Regions from separate parts of the Homo sapiens genome. Here regions 2, 3 and 4 are each linked to region 1. The links are contacts of gene promoters, found by promoter capture Hi-C in blood cells and fetal thymus (Javierre and others, 2016). All regions are on one chromosome and are shown on one strand. Each heading gives the region's core, a stretch centred on a gene start or on the middle of the fragment in contact. The rest is flanking DNA. Distances are from core to core; before and after follow the strand shown.

Region 1 (5,060 bases), core at 1,455-3,954:
CAGTCCCAGATGGATGCTTGAAGCTTGTTGCTCAAGCAACGGAAACAGACTGCACCCCACAGGTTGTGGATCCCAGTTGGTCCCTTGGTTCTCAGATACCCAACTCCAACTGGTAGGGTCTTCCGACATCTGGAGTGGGCCTACAGCCTGGACAACCAGGCCCCACAGAGCAGTGGGGCAGCCCAGCTTCTACTGAGTTCTCCGCTGCAGAGGTATAGTCACCAGCAGACAGCACGTGCTCCAGGCCAACACGCCCATATGGCTCTGCCTCCTCACCTTCTACCGTGAGCCACACTGGCTGGGAGATCTCGGTTTCACCCCCATCCTCCACCTGGCACCAGTACCGGCCGGCGTCAGAGCGCTCCACTGACTTCAGGCTGTGGAAACAGGATACGAGGCTTGCTTCCGAGGGCAAGGGCGGCAGCTCTGCTGGGCAAACTTGATGAGTTCAGCCTGCCCCCACTTCTGGAAGGTCCCACAGGTAGCCAAATAAAAAAACCACAGACCTCTGGGCATCAGGAGAGGGCCCCAGCTCCCAATCCCCAAGGAAAGAGCATAGCCTGCCCCCTGGCTGGCAGCCCACACCTTCCCCCACAGGCCTGCACCTGAGGAAGCCGATCCAGTGCTGCTCGCTGACTGGGATGTACAACTGGTCCAAGTTCTGGACCACAGCCCCATCCTTCACCCACTGGATGTCAGGCTCCTCCATCCCCTCCACACTGCAGTTGAGCTTCACCGGCTGCCCCTGAGACACTGTCAGCTTCACCGGGGCTCCCATGAGCTTCAGACCTGAGGGGTGGGAAGGAACATGTGTCAGCCTTGAGAGGGACTCTGTCTCTGTAAACAGTTCCCATTCTCTTCTAGAAGGTAGCTTCTGTGTCAGACAGAGGGCTCTTTCTCAGCCAAAGTCAAGGAAGCAGAGGTAGGACAGTGTGGAAGGGAAGGTCGCTGGACCTGGGCGAAGGGAAGGGGCATGGCAAGCTCTCCAAGTTCCCTCCGGCTCTAAGGACCTCTTCCCCATGTCCTCCTTCTGAGCCCAGACAGCAAAAGGAAGGCAGGCTGGGCTGAAACGATGGGAGTTACCCTACTGGGGCAGGCACTGCTCTAGGAATGACTGCTGCACCCAACTAGTGCAACAGGCTGCCAGCTCTCCACCCAAGGTGTCAGCCCAGACCCTGAATTGCTGCCAGCACCCTCTGCACCCAACCTTACCAAATGGAGCAGGGCTGAAGAAGGAAAGGAGGGGGTGCTCCCCTGAAGTGGAGAACATATGGCTGCAAAACCACGTCAGATCAAACACATGGCAGCCTTCCTGGCAGCCATCCACTCTATTAATACCTGAATGTGGGCAGGGGCGAGTGCTAGGAAGGTGGGAGGCAGAAGGGAGGGCTGGGGCCCTGAGCAGGGAGCCTAAGACCCCTGAGCCACTGCCACATTAACAGGGGCCACTCTTTGGAACTTGCGTGCGAGCGCGCGCGCGCGCGCGCACACACACACACACACACACACACACACACACACATACACGCACCTCTCCTGGCCTCCTGGCATGTTTTTAAGCAGAGAGAGGGGCAGGTCAAGTATCCACATAACTGAAATCCAGCCCTGCTTCTTCTCACCCTTTGCTGTGTGACTCTAGGCAAAGTCGTGGGCTCCCTGAGCATCAGGTCCGCACCTTTCGGCTTGTAAATACTCGTCACCCCGTTTCCCTTCCCTTCCCTGAGAGGCTGATATGGCAAGGAATGCTGTCTCAAGAGAAGATGCCAGCGGGTGGCCGCTGTCCTGGCCTGTGGCTCTTCCCTGCTCCCTTCACCCTCTCAGGACCAGTCACAGGATGGGGGCCAGCCTCCCGCTCCCTATATGCCCATCAGTCCCCGAGGTGCGGGGTGGGAACTTGGAGAGCACCGTGCTGCATGGAACGCTCTTGTCACCAGCAAATGCCTCAGTGGCTATGTGGGAACACAAGACTAACCCCTCCCAAAGACCAGCAACCTGGCACCAGCCCATCCTCTCCAAGGTTCTGCTTTCAGGAAGCTCTGAGGGCACAGGAACTCGAGTGTGCCCATTTGTTTTTTGTGACTGGGCACCCTCACAGCCCCTGTGTACCTAAATGGTATCAGGGTGGCCTTTGGGTGCCCAGCCCCGGCCCGTGTGGTTTCCGAGGCGGACCTTCGCGTGCGGGGCAGGCAGAATGGGGTCCCCAGTACTGGGAAGGAGGGAGCTAACAGCTGGGAACATCGAGGCGGGAAAATGCAGTCCCAAACACTCCCCGCTGACCACACAGCCCACACCCCGCTCCCTTCTCTTCCACCCCGCCAGAAGAGCCCCGAGCGCCAGAAAGTTGGGGGTGGGGGCCCGGCCGGAGATCTGGCGGCGAGCACTCCGCAGCGTGCCCTGTCCCGGCTCCGAGCCTCGGCCTTCGGCTCCGGACCCCCACCCCGACTCCAGCCCGCCAGGCCCGCCCCGGGCTCCGACCCCCGGCCGCGCCCCTCCGCAGCCCCCCGCTTCCCGCCGCCTCCCGTGCCAGCCCCTACCTGCGGCGGCGGACTCCGGGAGCAGCAGAGAAGCCAGAGCCGCCAGCAGCAGCCCGAGCCGCGGTGGCGGCGGCAGCGGCAGCGGCGGGAGCCCCGGCCGCCCCATGCTCCGCCTCAGCGCCATCGGCGGCGACGCCGCACCATGCCGGGCCCGGCCCGCGAGCGAGGAGGGAGGAGGGCGGGGAGGAGGCGGCGGGAAGGGAGCGGGAGGGAGGAGGGCTGCGGGAGGGGCTGGGGCCGCCCGTGGGGCGGTGCTGAGGCGACCGCCTCCGAGACCCGCGCCCGCCTCCGGCCGCGGTCGCCGCCGTCAGCAGCGCGGGGTCCCCGGGGCCGCTCCCGCGCCACCGCGCTCCTTCCACTGCCGTCGCCGCCGTCGCCGCCGCTGATTCATGTTCTTCTCGGAGCCGCCGCCTCCTCCCGGCCCGCCCGCAGCCCGAGCTCGCACCGCCCCCCCGCGGAGCCCCGGCGACTGGCTCGGAGCGCGAATCCCAGCCAGCGCCGCAAACCCCCGCGGCCCCGCCGGCGCCCCGCCGGCACGCCGGCCCCAGCCGCCCCCTGGCCAAACCTGAGGATCCGGCTTGGCCTCCAGGATGGGCTCCCCGGCCACGCCCCTCCTTTCCCTAAACCCGCTCCGGCATCTTTTCTAACCCAGCCCTCCAGAGCCTTCCCTCAAAACCCCGCTGTCAGCCCCCACCACACCCCAACTCTTGTTCGGACTCTGATCCCAGAATCCAGCATCCCCCTCTCAGGACTTAGAGCACCTCAACCCCTAGACACTCCCATCCATCTGGCTCCCCGAAACTGCCGTGACCCGGGGCTCCCCCAACAGGATCGGCTAGCATCCCTTCGTGCCTCCCTTTCATTGAGCCATTCACCCAAAATCCCCATATTCATGTCCTATTGCCATGCCTTTATCTCCAAGTCCCTCCCACCTGAAAAATGCCCATTTTCTCCAGCCCCAATTGCCGTATGTTTTCCAACTTGGGTCCTGAGTTTCCCAAGATCTTGGTAATCCCCAGGTTTTACCTAATATATATCCCCACCACTACACTACACAGGCCAAAGCCTAATTGCCCGTATCTTTTTGGGCTGTCATTTTTCCTGGTTGCTTCCCCTGCTTCTACCCCTTTTCCCAGGACCTGGTGTGAAAGTTGGCTGTGTCGTCACACTGTCCAGTCAAACATTAGCTATTATTAGTAGACCACCTTGCACACAGTAGGCTTTCCATAAATAAATAGGCAGATGCCTGTTAAATGAATGAATAATTGCTTCAGAGCCTGCCCCACAACCAGTAATCACGAGGGTGGCCTTGCCCACAGACATCCTGTTAGGCACATGCAGAGCTGGTTCCAAACCAAGCCTACCAAGTGTGCTCCTCCCCTTGCCCTTCCCTCCAGGGGGAAGCCCACCCCACACCCCTTCCAGAGGTCCTGGGTAGAGAGGAGGGACCAGCCACTCAGCTCCGGTTGCCGCAGGCTCACTGGATCTTTTCAGGGATTCTCCTGAGCAGCAGGGGCCTGCCTCTTCTTCCACTTGGCCCCAGCAGTGCTTGTTTATTAATTACCCTAATGATAACAACAGCAGTGCTGGCAGCAGCCTGAGACCCAGCTGGGGGCGCCCCCAGGCGGCAGCAGGAGGAGAGACTCATGAGGCACTGTCAAGACATGGATGGCAGGGGCCAGATATCTCTGTCTCTGTTTCTTTCTTTTTTTTTTTTTAATTGGCATATTTGTTTATTTCTCAGTTTGTGAAAATGTTCTTAATTTGTTGATGTAGCAAACAAATTTCAACTTTGATTGCTATGAAAAAAACAAGATAATCTGCTTTGCAATGAACTTTATATAGTTAAACTGCATACAGGCAACATGCTATATATGAAAAAGTTACTAACTGATCTACAGGTATTACATACTGAAAAGAGTTAACAGTTTATTATAATTTATTTTATTTAACAATCTAGGAAGTTCGCAGCCATCAGCAGTTCTAGTACAATTTCAGGTGCAATTGGGAATTCAGGAATCTCGATGGAGCTGTTAGTGTAGCGAACCTTGTAGGTAAAATACATGCATACTTTCGATAGCACATGTGAAGGTATCTCTCTAAAATTGACCTCATTGGTTTCGTTCTCAGCAAACTGACCTCACAGCATAAACAAAAATTAACTTAAGACCAAAGACCTAAATTTAAAAGCCAAACCCATAAAACGCCTGGGCCACTCAACATGGCTTTTATCGTGCCTGATGTTAATGCATGTTCTCTTTTTACAATAAATTCATGGCCATCAGATGATATCAATTTGACATACGTGGCATCAGGGCCTTCACAGCCACCATAGGTTTTCTCCTCTCCATCCATTTTGTTCTTATGAAATTCTACTTTGCTTCCCCAGGAACTTTAGTAGTTTCCTGGTGAGGCGAGGACACAGAGTGTGTGGCTCACTTCCGTCTCCTCTGTCTCTGTTTCACTGAGCTCTCTGGCAATTATGTTCTTCTTCCTTCTTCCTTCTTCTTCCTTCTTTCTTCTTCT
Region 2 (5,060 bases), core at 1,250-3,749, 220 kb before region 1:
TGCGCCCGGCCTGTATTTCATAATTTTTTAAAGTCTTGTTTTCTTAAGTGCTAGCATCTGTAACAGCATCAGCCAAACTTATGAAGAAAAGACCAGAAGAGCCACTAAAGGAAGATGGGTCTCAAAGGCTGATGAGAACTGTGATAAATAAGGAGCAACACTCAAATCCTGAACCACCAAATAAACTTTCTTCTCAGGATTTCTCCAAAAGAACATTTGACAAAGTGGAAAAAAAAAAATCAGCCATATGGTTTCACAAAGGGTTGTTCTAAGATCTTCAAGTAAATTAAAATCTCAATTATAAACAGAGGGGCAGACAGTTTTTGTTTGTTTTTAAGATGGGGTCTCACTCTGTTGCCCAGGCTGGAATACAGTGGTGCCATCATAGCTCACTGCAGCCTCAAACTCCTGGGCTCGAGCAATCATCCCGCCTCAGCCTCCTAAGATGCTGGGGCTATAGGTGTGCACCACCATGCCCGGCATAGCAGGGAAAGGAAAATATCTTTAGCTTCATTACAGTTTTAGGAGGAGAGATAAGGCATATAAACTTTAAAATCCCAGCAAGAAAAAAAAAAAAACAAAAAAACCCACAGCATTGTTTTACCAAATAGGGAAGCAACCAAAAAAAGCATTGCACACTTTTGGAGGCCGAGGCAGGCAGATCACTTGAGGTCAGGAGTTCGAGACCAGCCTGGCCAACATGTTGAAATCCTGTCTCTACTGAAAAAACAAAAAGTAGCCAGGCATGGTGGCACATGCCTGTAATCCCAGCTACTCGGGAGGCTGAGGCAAGAGAATCACTTGAACCCGGGAGGTGGAGGTTGCAGTGAGCTGAGATCACGCCACTGCACTTCAGCCTAGGTGACAGAGTGAGACTCTGTCTCAAAAAAGAAAAAAGGAAAAAAAAAAAAGCAAAAAAAAAGCATTGCAAACATTGTGACAAAATGAGAGGGGGGAATTTACTCCCTTGAAATCTAGGAGGAGCTATCCATACTGTAAACTCATTCTTCTGTTAAGTGTCCTTCAAAACCAGAGGAAAATAATGTGACCAATGAAGAAGCACTGGACCTGTTGCTATAACTGTTGAAAGGAAGGAAGGAAGGATTTGGAAAATCTGGACATTCAAAAATACCAACGCTAAAAATCCACACTACCCAGTCTGGCTGTCATACTCACTTTTATTTCTTGCCTTCCTCACCAACTTTTTTTTTTTTTTTTAAGGTAACAGAAGTTAAAGTAAAATCCACAAATGGGGTAATAAACACCCAAGAAGGTAGGCAGGTCTCATTCTATACCTCTACTGAGAATTGCTATGAAAAGGAAGCTGCCAGAAAACCTGGCTTTGTCCTGCATTAAACAATGGAGCCCAGAGGAGACGCTTAGCCTGGAGCAGTGGGAACATGAAGTATAATATAACAAATCCTTCTGAAAACACTGTAGCTTTATTTCTTTAACAACACTGCAGTCTGAACATGAAGTAAAACCAACGGATACTCTGAGGATGAGTGGGACAGACCATGTGCTCAGAGAAGCTTAGTTTGAATAAACATAGCCCCAATTTCAAACCTTGGACTGTTTTCTCCAAACAAAGGGTCAGTGATAACAGCATCAAGCCCAACTTCAGACTCAGAGGGTTGGTGGGGAGGTTACAGATGTCAGGCTGAAGCCTCATTTCTACCTGTTTTTTCATCAGTCAAGAAATGAAAATACACAGGTGACAAATGAAAGACATTCAAAATACCAGCAGGAAATAAGACATTGACTCAAATCCAAGAAGGGAACCTGCCCTAAATTGCAAACTGAAAGAGAGAAAAACTTGGAAAGCAGTAGTGCTCTTCCACTTTGAAATGAGTGAGGCCAAGTAGGTGAGAGGAGGTTTCGAAAGACAACTCCCAGCCTGAAGAGGCTGGGCTATTTTTAGACAGTAAATGAAGAGGTGTTGGGTCCAGGGAGAGAAGCATCCTCTCTCTCCAGTGAGAATCACTTTGAAGGCTGAGGGCAGCTGCAGGCACCGGAAGGAGGGATGAAATGGTGATCAAAGAAACAAAACTAGGAGAACATTGACATTTTTCATTGTATACCACCTGTTGTGAGGATCTCAAGACACTTCACAAGCCTTATTTCAAGAGACCTCAGAGACAGAAAATTCAACAAGAGCTTTGAAGGTCATTCACAAAGGCTGGTGAGGGGCATAGCTGCTGGCCACAGGGACATCCACTCTTAGTCATCTATTCTATGTGGAGAACTCAGAGCGTGTGTATTGAACACTAAGAAATGACTGGAGCCTGGCGCAGAGGCAAGCACCACTAGTCCCAGCTACTCAGAAAGGCAGGGGCTGGGCATGGTGGCTCATGCCTGTAATCCCAGCACTTTGGGAGGCTGTGGCAGGAGGAGCCCTTGAGGCCAGAAGTTTGAGACCAGCCTGAGCAACATCGTAAGACTCTGTCTCTACAAAAAACAAAAATAACTGGCCGGGCGTGGTGGCTCATACCTGTAATCCCAGCACTTTGGGAGGCTGAGGCAGGCAGATCACGAGGTCAGGAGTTTGAGACCAGCCTGACCAACATGGTGAAACACCGTTTCTACTAAAAATAAAAAAATTAGCCCGGCGTGGTGGCACGCGCCTGTAATCCCAGCTACTCAGGAGGCTGAGGCAGGAGAATCGCTTGAACCCGGGAGGCAGAGTTTGCAGTGAGCCGAGATCACGCCACTGTACTCCAGCCTGGGCAACAGAGCAAGACTCCGTCTCGAAAAAAATGAGTATGTTTCCCCAATACCAAATCATATATGCGTTCAAACACTGAGCAAAAGCTGAAATTAGAGTATTGCCACTTTTTCTCCTTCATGAAACCCACCCAACCAAACTCTTCTTAGAGTCACTTCTCAAAAGGCTCGAAGTACCACCACACAACTATACAGGAAAAAAACTTGGGGAAACAAATAGAGAAAGAAGAATTAGATTTACAATTAAAAAAACACAACTAGAAGAAAGTCATCTTACCCATTGTTTCCAGAAGGAATAATATAACCTAGATCAGATTAATGGCTCTTAAGGAGGAGGACGATCTCAATACCTCCTTCAGTTACTTTTTAAAAATCTAGCAACCCTCCAGCACAGACAATCCTTTTGTAACCCTAACTTAAATCTTGCCTGCTGGGCTTTGGTCCATTTCTATCCTTTGTCCTTGAAAACAAGCCCAGCTCCCTCCACATAAAAATCTTTCAGAAACTTTCAGAGGAGGAGGGTTAGCTATCAAGAACACATACATTTGCTTCTTAAGGAAAACACAGCCCAACTTAGAGATGAGAGGCAGGAAATGACAAGTCTACAGGATTTGAACTTGGGTATTTACTGATAACTTCAAGTCACACTTCACCAAGACTAAGCTGATTTAGCATAAAACTTTAAATCAGTCTTTTCCAATGTACTCCACTGAAGAGACTCCCCTCCCTCTGAAAAAGCTTAATAAAAATCTCAGCACTCATCTACTCTTTGATGTAACTTAAATCTCCACCTCCACTGGCTCTCTCACACCAGCTTTTAGCCATATTTTTAACTAGGTCTCCCCTGAATTAAGAACCCTTTACTGAGCACTGCTTTCTGCATACGTGGACTTCTTCTCTCTTATGTTCTTCACACCTAATTAGGCTGCATCTCTACTTCTTTGTCACCATTTTATTAATCGTAGTTTTGATCTCTCTTCTAAAGAGGTCATAAATTCCTCCTGATTATTTTATTCACCTGGATGTCCAAGTTTATCCCGCACTATATTTGACATCTTTAAATTAGTCTCATTTATTTTTTTTAGTACTTACTGCCTATCTTACACTGTCCTAAACGGTGTGATGTAAAGGAAATAAAGAGCATGACCCCGATCCTTAGGAAATGAAGACATACATAAAATAACAATAAGATATTGGTTTCAAGGTGGGGGACTAGTCACAGAAAGCCCTGTGGCTCTGATAAATACAGAATTGGACCTAAAAATAAGTGTACAATTTGGTGTAAAGGAGAAGGCTACTTTAGATAGAAAGAACAGTATAATTCAAAGCAGGAGGCCATCTGAAGTAAGAGCTGCATAAAAGCTTTCTGACATTTCCTTCTTTGCCCCCCAAAAGGGGCATGTACCTTTTTGTCTTCAAATTTTATTTGAGAATTAGCTATCCATGAATCACAAATTTCCTGTTATCATGATTACTCACAGCCACCACATGTTAGAGCAACTCACAGAGCTTAATACACTAGAGTAATCACAAGGCAGGCTTTTAGAATAATCTCAGGTAGAGACCTTTTACTAAGGAGTGTGGGGAGTCTGGCATCTCTAGGGTCCTGGGCGCACAAAGACAGCTACTCCTCTTGGGTGCTAAAGATATGCACCAGTCATTTTGCTGCCAGACCATTCAAGGGTCATTCAACTTCAGCTAAGTATTTCTTTCATACACAGCTTCAGGACAGACAAAGCCATCTAAAGCAGTCTGAAGCACTGAATTCCTATTTTAAACAGGGAATGGTAAATGGTCTTGCCAGGGATGCCCCTTTTCCACTGTTTTCCTGGAGAGCTCTTCTCCACCTGCCTTAGGACTCACAGTTCAAGCATCCCTTCCTCTGTGAAGCCTTTCCTTTTTTTTTTTTTTTTGAGACGGAGTCTTGCTCTGTTACCCAGGCTAGAGTGCACTGGCAGGATCTGAGCTCACTGCAACCTCAGCCTCCCGGGTTCAGGCGAGTCTCCTGCCTCAGCCTCCCGAGTAGCTGGGATTACAGACATGCACCACCACGCCCGGCTAATTTTTGTATTTTTAGTAGAGATGAGGTTTCACCATCTTGACCAGGCTGGTTTCGAACTCCTGACCTAGTGATCCATCCGCCTTGGCCTCCCAAAGTGCTGGGATTACAGGGGTGAGCCACCATGCCTGGCCTGTGAAGCCTTTCCTAATTCCTCTGAACTGACTTAGGTCGCCTCCCCTGTGCTTCCATTAACAACGTACACATACTTCTACAGCAGCACTTACCACACCGTGTTTTAATTGTTTACATGTCTGACTAGCCATAAGCTCTTTGA
Region 3 (5,060 bases), core at 1,331-3,830, 190 kb before region 1:
GCGAGACTCTGTTAAAAAAAAAAAAAAAAAAAAAAAAACTTTAAAGGTTCTATTATGTAAGTTCCACTAATAGTAATAGTTTTCACTGGTTTTAAAGTTGAACTGTTTTTTGGTCTCATGTTAACTTGGGCTGACTTACAGTGTGAGACTGCAAAAAACACAAAAAAATCAGCAATATAACTCCTAAAGTCAATGAATTTACATCCATTCTTGAAAAAGATTAGGCTATGGAGAGAAGGTATAAGTCAAATGAATACAGAATCATCCAATTTTAGAGCAAGATCCTCCTTTATAAATGAGACAATGGAGGTACTCAAATAACCAATATAAGAACATTAAGACCAGCCTGGCCAAGATGGTGAAACCCCATCTCTACGTAAATACAAAAATTAGCTGGGGCGGTGGCAGGCTCCTGTAATCTCAGCTACTCAGGAGGCTGAAGCAGGAGAATTGCTTGAGCCCCAGAGGTGGAGGTTGCAGTGAGCTGAGTTCGCACCACTGCACTCCAGCCTGGGCGACAGAGTAAGACTCCATCGCTAAAATAAAATATTTCAACATTTTAGATTTTTAAAACAGTAATCTTTTTGTCTTATTTTATGTGCATAAAGCAGTTAAGCAATAACAGAAAAGGACCAGATAACACAGAGGCAGAATGAATCTCAAGGAAGTGAGATTGTAAAACAAGCAGTTGTATGACAATCAGTGCAGACGGCTGTCATCTGCTCCTGAAAAGAAGGACACAGTTTAGATTTTAGGGCACTCCACAGGCAGCTGGTTATGATCTCCCCATGTTTTACATCAGACCTTATGTCAGGGGTCAGCAAACCACAGCCCACTAACAACTTCTTTTTTTTTTTTAACCCGAGACAGAGTTTTGTTCTTGTCGCCCAGGCTGGAGTGCAATGGCGCGATCTGGGCTCACTGCAACCTCAGCCTCCCGGGTTCAAGCGATTCTCCTGCCTCAGCGTTCTGAGTACTGGGATTACAGGCACCCATCACCACACCTGGCTAATTTTTTGTATTTTTAGTAGACACGGGGTTTTGTCATGTTGGCCAGACTAGTCTCAAACTCCTGACGTCAGGTGATCCACCCACCTCGGCCTCCCAAAGTGCTGGGATTATGGGTGTGAGCCACCGCACCTGGACTTTTTTACTAAAGTTTTAATGGAATACAGCTGCTTTTATACTACAACAGCAGTCAATTAGTCGCAACAGAGAGCCATCTAGCTCTCTGCAAAGTCTAAAACTATTTACTATCTGGCCTTTTACAGAAAACGTTTGTACAACTCCTGCACTGTATCAATACCTGACAGTTACTTATTTAAGTAAATACAACAACCCTAAATAGGAATCCTATAAAAAAAACTTCAGGAAAATAATAAAAATAGGCCATAAAGGTCATATTACAAAGGACGAAGACCAAAGTCTAGAATATAAATTCCAGAGACTAAATATTTAATTTTTGGATATAAAAGCAACTCAAGGCAAAATGGTACTAGAATATGATGGTATTTTCCAGTTTTTCTCCAAAAACAAAAACATCTCTCTATATGCAAGTGAATAAGTTCTCCTCTAGTTCTAAGGTCACCCATTCCCAGTTTCTGATTAACATCTACCAGAGAAGCTACAACCACCTCACATAGAAAACGTCATAGAAATTGACTGAGGTCAAATGGGAGTAGTGGTTTCGGGATTTTAAAAATCTAACTCGGTAGGGACTCTCAAGCACCTATCCCCCAAATATTTAAGCCAGCCTTCCCATAAAACCAGACAAGTCTCAAAGAATAAAAGCTCAATAAATGATGCTTGATTGACACAGCCTAAAGAACTACTAAGCCATTTAAGTCATAATCTTAAACCTAGGCATCCAATTAAATGTATTATGCCTTAGTGCTCTTCTGAAAAAGCTTCTGTCTTTAATAAATCATTTAAATCCTTTAGGTTTCAGTCACAACAAAAATGGGCTCACCACCTTTTCTACATCATCAACCTCCTCACTCTGGTAGTCAGAAACAACATCCACAATTTCATCAATAGAATCATCAGTTTTCTCATTATCATCTTCATCATCTTCTTCCAAATCCAAAACAGTGAAGTCAGCACTGCTTCTCCCACCCTTCTTCTCTTGCTTTGGTTGTATCTGTTCTCCAGGTAGCAGTAAGTGACCCTGAAAATGTCCATTCCCTCTGCTGCTTTTTGCAGCTCTCCTAGGAACAATGGAGAAGGCTGAAGGATTAGAAATCCTACTCCAAGAATCACATTCAGTTTTCAAAACTCTGGCATCTTCAGTAATTCCACTTTTTCCAAGTAAGTCAGAGATGCCTTGTTCTTGCTGAAACACATCTGAATTTTCCTGACATGTCTTTGTTTCTTTAATTAACTGCTCGTCTGCCTCTTTCTTACATTCCTGTGAAGCTCCAACACATTTCCTGGTTAAGGGGCCCTTCAGATGTTTTCTCCATCTTTCCCTGTCTTTCTCCAGAGAGTCTCCACATTCCTTCTCTTTGGCCTCTGGCTGTAGATTAGATTGCTGCTCCATAACTTTGCTTCCTGACAATTCAAATTTACTTTCTTCCTTAAAGGTGACTGGAAATTCACTTGAGTTTTCTTCTGGATTGTCAAATCCTTTCTGCTGTTCCACCTTCACATCACCAAGTTTTTGATGCTGTACTTTACTTAAATTTTGGACTGTCTTATTACTGGCTTTTTCAGAAATGGTCCTAACTTCCAGAACAGCCACTTTTTCTTTGGAACTCTTACGATTCCTAGCCCCATATTCTTCATTAACATCTTTATAATCTTGATCTGTATGTGACCCAGTGATACAGGAATGCTCAGATGGTTTGACAGTTGCACAACCTTCTTCTGGAAGGCATTCTTCATCCAAATGATCACCCCTATCTTCCAAGGAATCATTCAGAGTTTCTTCTGAGGTAGCAGCTCCTGAGTTTTGTTTTATTACATTAGCCTCAGGGTCTACAGCCTCTCCTTCTGACTGTAGAACCTTCTTCGTTTCTTGCTCTCTTTTTATTGAGTTTGTTTCATCTTTCTGGTCTGGATTCTGAGATTCTCTCTTCATCTGAAGGGAAGCAACATGCTGAAGAATGGAGCTAGGAACAGGCTTTTGTCCTGGGAGCTGTAACAAGGCAAAACTACCAGACTGGAGAGGAATAAGACTGGCTGTACCAACAGGCTGTCCTCCTGAGCTATAAGTTATTTTGGTTTCAGAGCCTGTTTTACTTGCAAAGCTTTGTGGTTCAGGAGGAGAAATCCTCAGGGTCAATGTACCAGCCTGAGACACAAAACTAGCTCCAGAGGAAAGCAATGATGGTGCCTGAGTGATAACATTCACTGCTGAAGAAGACCCAACAGCTTGAATTACAGGATTCATGACAGAGAAAGCAGAGGACGAAGTGGAAGATGGCGGAGTCTCAGAGGGTTTGGAAGGAGCAGGTAACCGGATTCCCATCACAGACCCTGGTTTAAAAAATAAGAGAGAAATTTTTAAATCATGACTGCCCATATCAAGACTTCCAATGTTTGCTTTTCTTTTTGGAAAAGTAACTCTTAAGAGATGAAGAAAAACAATCTTGGTGTATTAACATACCATATGGCCAAGTGATTCAACAAAAGAAAAGTTCATAAAAAAGAACTTTATACCTGGGTTCCGAAACATGACAGGCTGTAAGTTGGGCTGGGTATTAGAGCCTCGAAGCTGATGCAAAGGTAGAAGCTGGACAATCTGCCCATTAGGGTGCCTGAATAAGTTCATTCCACTTGGACTCCTAACAGGCTGCAAGACCATCCGATGTCCCTGAAGTTGTGTGTTTGAGACAGGTCTAAGAGTAGGAGAACCCTGCTGCACTGGAATCAACAACAATCGAGGTCCAGCACGTTTCACTGTGTTAGGAGAGACCTGTGGAGTAGCCACTGGAATTTGAGCAGCATTTTCTGAAAAACAGGAAATGGAAACATGGTACCCAAATTCCCCTTTAACACACGTAGGAAAAAAAAGTATTCATAATATTTTTTAAGACACAGTCTTGCTTTGTTGCTCAGGCTGGAGTGCAATGACACAACCTCGACTGACTACAACCTCCGCACCTCCCTAGTTCAAGTGATTCTTCCACTTCAGCATACCGAGTAGCTGCGACTACAGGTGTGCACCAGCACACCTGGCTTATTTCTGTATTTTTGGGTAGAGACAGGGTTTCACCATGTTGGTGAGGCTGGTCTCAAACCCCTGACCTCAAGTGATCTGCCGTTCTCGGCCTCCCAAAGTGCTGAGATTACAGGCGTGAGCCACCGCGCCCAGTCTATATTTTTTTTTTTTTAAAGAGGCAGGGTTGCACTTGTCACCTTCAGTGCAGTAGCTCAATCATAGCTCACTGCAGTCTCAAACTCCTTGGTTCAAGAGATCCTCCTGCCTCAGCCTTCCAAGTAACTGGGACTACAGGGATGTGTCACTACACCTGGCTAATTATGTTATTCTTTGCAGAGACAGGGTCTTGCTTTGTTGCTCAAGCTAGTCTCAAACTCCTGGCCTCAAGTGATCCTGCCATCTCGGCCTTCCAAAGTGCTGGGACTGCAGCCATGAGCCACCATGCCCAGTCATTAAGGCACAGAATCTGACCTTGCTTCAAATAACGTCTAATTTGGATTATAAAGTTGCTGAAATTCTGTAGTTTCATAATACACTATTTATGGCTGAGAACAGCCAGACATTATGGAGCTTTACATTTAGAATGGTAAAAAATAGAGTATCAACTGTCAAGAGGCACATTTAAAGAGATAATACTTTTGCCTAAAGAAAAACATGGTTATCTCTCTAAATCTGGATTCCTGTTAAAGGGATCATTCATGATAAAATTATGCTTCAACTTCATTCTTTTGAGACAGCATCGCACTCTGTCACCCAGGCTAGAGTGCAGTGGTGGGATCACAGCTCACTGCCACCTCGAACTCCCAGGCTCAGCCTCCCAAGTAGCTGGGACCACAGGTGCACGCTTTTTTTTTTTTTTGTGGAGATGGAGTTTGCTATGTTGCCCAGGCTGGTCTGG
Region 4 (5,060 bases), core at 1,425-3,924, 140 kb before region 1:
TGTCTATAAAAGAAAGAAAAACAGTCAAAGCTTAGCCAACCAGCAAATACTAGGCAAATAAACCAGAGCAAAAGGACCAGCTGCAAGCACTGAATATATTTAACTCTAGAACTAAGATTTTTAAAATGTGGGAGATTAAGTTAAAAGAACACAATATAAATGTCATAATATTTCTACATTATCAAGAAAATAACAAAAAAAATGGAAGTGGAAAAGGGAGAAGACAGGTTAAGTTAAAGATAGGGAGAAATGAAGAAAGGAAAAGGGGAGAAAAAAAGATAGGGAGAAATAAGATAATATTATTTAAATAAAATAGCAGAAGCTAAAGCTGACAATAAACAGCAGCAAACGTTATCTGCAAGATTGCTATGATGTGACTGTCTATTACAATCCACAGCAATCAGCCCACATTGATTGACTGAGACTGGGATCTGCACACTTTTAAGATCGCACTGTCACACAAGCTGCCTTCCATTAAAGCAAAAATTCTTCAAGTATTACCATTTGATTTAGAAACGGAATGACCAGCATATAAATCTTTTGTTTGATAACTTATAATGTTTAGACTCTCAGGTAAATGAACTACTTATAGTGTAAATAGTCTAGACACCCTTCTGAAAATTAATGAGTCAAAAATTCAAAAAACTACTCCAAGATGCCTATCTAAAATCAAAGATAGTCGTAAGAAACTAAAAATTGGGGCACAGCCTAAAATTTTTCATTACACCCCAAAACAGGAAAATTGGTAGTGATCATGATGTTAATAACCATAGTAGATATGTTTTTTTAAAGATTAAGCAACATAATCAAGGTCAAGATAATGCATTACAATAAAATAAAGATAAAAATGAAAACTGCAGCCATAAAAAAGAATGAGTTCATGCCCTTTGCAGGGACATGGATGAAGCTGGAAGCCATTATTCTAAGCAAACTAACATAGGAACAGAAAACCAAACACTGCATGTTTTCACTCGTAAGTGGGAGATGAACAATGAGAACACATGGATGCAAGGAGGGGAACATCACACACCAGAGCCTGTTGGTGGGGAGGGAGAGCATTAGGACAAACACCTAATGCATGCAGGGCTTAAAACCTAGATGACAGGGCCGGGCGCGGTGGCTCACGCCTGTAATCTCAGCACTTTGGGAGGCCGAGGCGGGCAGATCATGAGGTCAGGAGATCGAGACCATCCTGGTTAACACAGTGAAACCCCGTCTCTACTAAAAATACAAAAAAAATTAGCCGGGCATGGTAGCAGGCGCCTGTAGTCCCAGCTACTTGGGAGGCTGAGGCAGGAGAGTGGTGTGAACCCAGGAGGCAGAGCTTGCAGTGAGCTGAGATCGTGCCACTGCACTCCAGCCTGGGCGAGAGCGAGACTGCGCATCAAAAAAAAAAAAAAAAAAAAAAACCTCGATGACAGGTTGATAGGTACAGGAAACCACCATAGCACATGTATAACTATGTAACCTGCACATTCTGTACACGTATCCCAGAACTCAAAGTAAAATTTTAAAAAAAAAAGATAATGAAAATTTTAAATTAACTTCCCAGTGGTACATCAAATATATAAAATAGATGTTTGCAGCCAAAACATGAGACAGAAAAGTATTCTACTGTTTACACACCTAAATATACTACTAAAGGACAAGGAAGACCCTTCCTCCAAAATTATAAAAACAAACACATAATTGGGAGGCCGAGGCGGGCGGATCACAAGGTCAGGAGATCAAGACCATCCTGGCTAACACGGTGAAACCGTCTCTACTAAAAATACAAAAAAATTAGCCAGGCGCGGTGGCAGGCGCCTGTGGTCCCAGCTACTTGGGAGGCTGAGGCAGGAGAATGGCATGAACCCAGGAGGCGGAGCTTGCAGTGAGCAGAGATTGCACCACTGCACTCCAGCCGCCTGGGCGACAGAGCGAAACTCCGTCTCAAACAAACACACACACACACACATAAACAAAAGCAACCAAATTAAGATGAGAAACGGGAAGGGGAGAATACCAGGTTATAAGAATGAACAAAGAAAATATCACTTGCTTTACCATGATACATTTTTTTCTTACATAAGATATTAGACATGGTTTTTAAACTAAAGGGAAGAATTATGGAGACAGAGAAGAGAAAAATATGCAAACTGAAAGACGTGCTGAAAGAAATGAAATCAAGGCTAGAAAGAAAGAGGAAAAAACAGAAAAAAAGAGATGAGAAAGAGAGAGGAAAAAGAGGAGAAACAGTAGGGAAGAAAGAAAAAAAGAAAACAAAAAAAAAGAAGTCGCTAGTCTATTACCTTCTTGAAGACCAGGATGTATCACCTGCTTGTGCCGCAAAGTCTTCAAATCTTCTATCAATTCCTTTTCCAACTGGGAAATTCTTGCTCTGTAACCTACACCCAAAATAAATAGTAATAAAATAAGCTACTGTACACTACAGACAAATGAATGTTGCATGTTTCATTGCTGGAGCCCAAACCACAAATACAACTCTTTTTATACTATTTTATAATACCTGAGTCATTTGTGGTTGATGCCTGGAGACTAGAAGATTCTTCTGTTGTCCCATCAACTGCATGAATGTCTAGAGCTTCCTATACATCAAAAAAAAAAAAAAATAGTAGTTCATATTGCTTCTGAAAACTTAAATGTAAAACAGGATTAAAAAAAACTTAAAGACCAGAAGGAAAATATCTCCATGCCTACAGTTACGCTAACATTGGCAGAACAGGAGCAATTTTTTCATACTTTTTGATATTTTCTAAGTGTTCTACATTAATATTACTTTAATAATCAGAAGGGGAAAAGGGGGAAGTAAAAAAATGTGAATACGATGTCATACTGAGCTAACTGACCTCAAAGTATACGCCAATTTGCATGTTCACTTCTCAGAGCCTATATTCAGATAGCTTACTCAGCTAACAAGAAGGGAGGAAAAGAACAGGTAGAAGGGATTAAATATCCAACATCTGTGTAGTCAATTAAGAAAGACAGCCTGGCACAGTGGCTCACGCCTATAATCCCAGCACTTTGGGAGGCCGAGGCAGGTGGATCACAAGGTCAGGAGATTGAGACCATCCTGGCCACATGGTGAAACCCTGTCTCTACTAAAATAAAAAAAATAGCTGGGCATGGTGATGCACACCTGTAGTCCCAGCTACTCGGGAGGCTGAGGCAGGGGAACTGCTTGAACCCGGGAAACAGAGGTTGCAGTGAGCCAAGATTGTGCCACTGCACTCCAGCTGGTGACAGAGCAAGATTCCGTCTCAAAAAAAAAAAAAAAAAGAGGCCAGGGGCAGTGGCTCACGCTTGTAATTCCAGCACTTTGGGAGGCTGAGGCAGGAGGATCACGAGGCCAGGAGATCGAGACCATCCTGGCTAATATGGTGAAACCCCGTCTCTACTAAAAATACAAAAAAAATTAGCCGGGCATGGTGGCGAGCACCTGTAGTCCCAGCTACTCGGGAGTCTGAGGCAGGGGAATGGCAAGAACACAGGAGGCGGAGTTTGCAGTGAGCCAAGATTGCGCTACTGCACTCCAGCATGAGCCACAGACCGAGACTCCATCTCAAAAAATAAATAAAAAAAGACTGGGCTTCTATAAAAATTTCCAAGAAAAATAATCTGGTTGAAGAGTCAGAGTGGAATAAACAGAGACTTCAATGTGTAAGACAGGAGAGTTAAGATGACTGTTAATATTTGGTTCTCCAATGGTACTCTACTACTACTACTGAAAACCAGGGCCAGGAGCGGTGGCTCATGCATGTAATCCCAGCACTTTGGGAGGCTGAAGCAGGCAGACTGCTGGAGGCCAGAAGTTAGAAATTAGCTGGCCAACATTGCAAAACCCCGTCTCTACCAAAATTACAAAAATTAGCTGGGTGTGGTGGCACACGCCTGTAATCCCAGCTACTCGTGAGGCTGGGGCACGAGAATGGCTTGAACTCGGGAGACGGAGATTGCAGTGAGCTGAGATCGTGCCACTGAACTCCAGCCTGGGCAACAGAGCAAGACTCTGTCTCAAAAAAAAAAAAAAAAGAAAAGAAAAATAAAAGAAAACCAGGAGGTAAAAGAAATGGAGCGTCACCAAAGAGTTAGTAAATATTTCATGTATTTTTAGTCCTTTCCAAAATCCATAATGATGAAAATTCCAGTAAGACCCGAAGACTTTTTTTAAACACAGCTATGCAAAAATCGTAAACTGAAATCTAAGCAAGACATACTTTTTTAAGTCTATTCAAATGAAGTATCTTAAGTTATTCCTATTAACTAAACCAAACATTTTGGAGACACTTCCCTCCCAACTCCACCCCCCATACACCCTCACAAATAGATATCACAAAACTAGATTGTAAATCGAGTTACTTACAAGCCAGTATACAATTCAAGTATGACTAATTAGCCTTAAAGAATCCTGAAAATTACAATCTTACCTTTGATTCAAAGGAAACAAAGAGAACACCATCCACATCTTCCAGATCAGGCTTCACATCTGGAAAGGTACTCCCAGGGCTTACAGGTGTATTCTTTGTAGAAATTAAAGACTTTCCTGTGTTCTTAGGTGGTCGTCCTGCCTTACAGAGTTTCAATTTTCGTGGCCTTCCTCTTTTTCCAGGGACATTTGGAGAGGCATTCTGATTAGCATTCACTACCTTTGCGGCTGTTGCAATCTTAAGCATAGTTGTTCTCTTTCTGCCCAAGTCCTCTTTTCCTGAAAGTGAGTCTCCAACTGAATCCTTTGAATCGTCGAGTATTCTTTCTGTGCTAATGCTGTCAGATATATCAGGATATTTCCACTGAGGCTCTTTCAGTAAGGGATATTTTTGTACCACTCTGAGATCTGGTGAATGTTTTCTAAGACCATTTTCTGATTCCTTGCCTAAGCAGAAGGCAGTCTCATTGGAATTTTCAATGTATGTAGGCAAATATTCCAATTCTGCCAACATAGAAGATTTATCCTTTCGAGATGTGGAAAGCATGTTATCGGGGAGTTCAGAAATCTTAACTGTGCTTCTGGTGACAGCACAGGGCTCCAGATAGACTACTGGCATCTTTCCAGTGTCTAA

Evidence for each region. The method cuts DNA at HindIII sites, captures the fragments that hold promoters and counts their contacts. A CHiCAGO score of 5 or more calls a contact.
Region 2: a fragment that was not itself captured here is called in contact with the fragment with the promoter of TYRO3 in region 1 in 1 of 17 cell types (M1 macrophages); the score reaches 5.1 in M1 macrophages.
Region 3: a contact is called between a fragment that was not itself captured here and the fragment with the promoter of TYRO3 in region 1, in 2 of 17 cell types (endothelial precursors and M1 macrophages). The highest score is 5.9, in endothelial precursors.
Region 4: a contact is called between a fragment that was not itself captured here and the fragment with the promoter of TYRO3 in region 1, in 2 of 17 cell types (M2 macrophages and M1 macrophages). The highest score is 6.0, in M2 macrophages.

Annotation. Positions count from the first base shown.
Region 1 is chr15:41,556,856-41,561,915 of GRCh38, reverse strand. It overlaps TYRO3 (TYRO3 protein tyrosine kinase), which reads right to left and starts at 2,704. Exons shown (of 19, transcript NM_006293.4): 1 at 2,535-2,704; 2 at 606-789; 3 at 277-377. The coding sequence starts at 2,658. It also overlaps the pseudogene ELOCP2. RefSeq lists enhancers at 1,576-2,217, 2,784-3,285 and silencers at 2,089-2,289, 2,596-2,765, 2,776-2,915, 2,854-3,020, 2,966-3,055. The HindIII fragment of the contact is 16,850 bases long and covers 26-5,060 here.
Region 2 is chr15:41,776,918-41,781,977 of GRCh38, reverse strand. All of the region lies in intron 2 of MAPKBP1 (mitogen-activated protein kinase binding protein 1), which reads right to left. Among named protein-coding and RNA genes, the nearest start is that of MAPKBP1, 5.0 kb to the right of the region's middle. The HindIII fragment of the contact is 1,930 bases long and covers 1,535-3,464 here.
Region 3 is chr15:41,747,528-41,752,587 of GRCh38, reverse strand. MGA (MAX dimerization protein MGA) reads right to left here. Exons shown (of 24, transcript NM_001400225.1): 16 at 3,661-3,951; 17 at 1,973-3,477. Among named protein-coding and RNA genes, the nearest start is that of MAPKBP1, 24 kb to the left of the region's middle. The HindIII fragment of the contact is 1,341 bases long and covers 1,910-3,250 here.
Region 4 is chr15:41,696,391-41,701,450 of GRCh38, reverse strand. MGA (MAX dimerization protein MGA) reads right to left here. Exons shown (of 24, transcript NM_001400225.1): 3 at 4,428-5,060; 4 at 2,510-2,588; 5 at 2,292-2,387. Among named protein-coding and RNA genes, the nearest start is that of MIR626, 7.3 kb to the right of the region's middle. The HindIII fragment of the contact is 5,283 bases long and covers 33-5,060 here.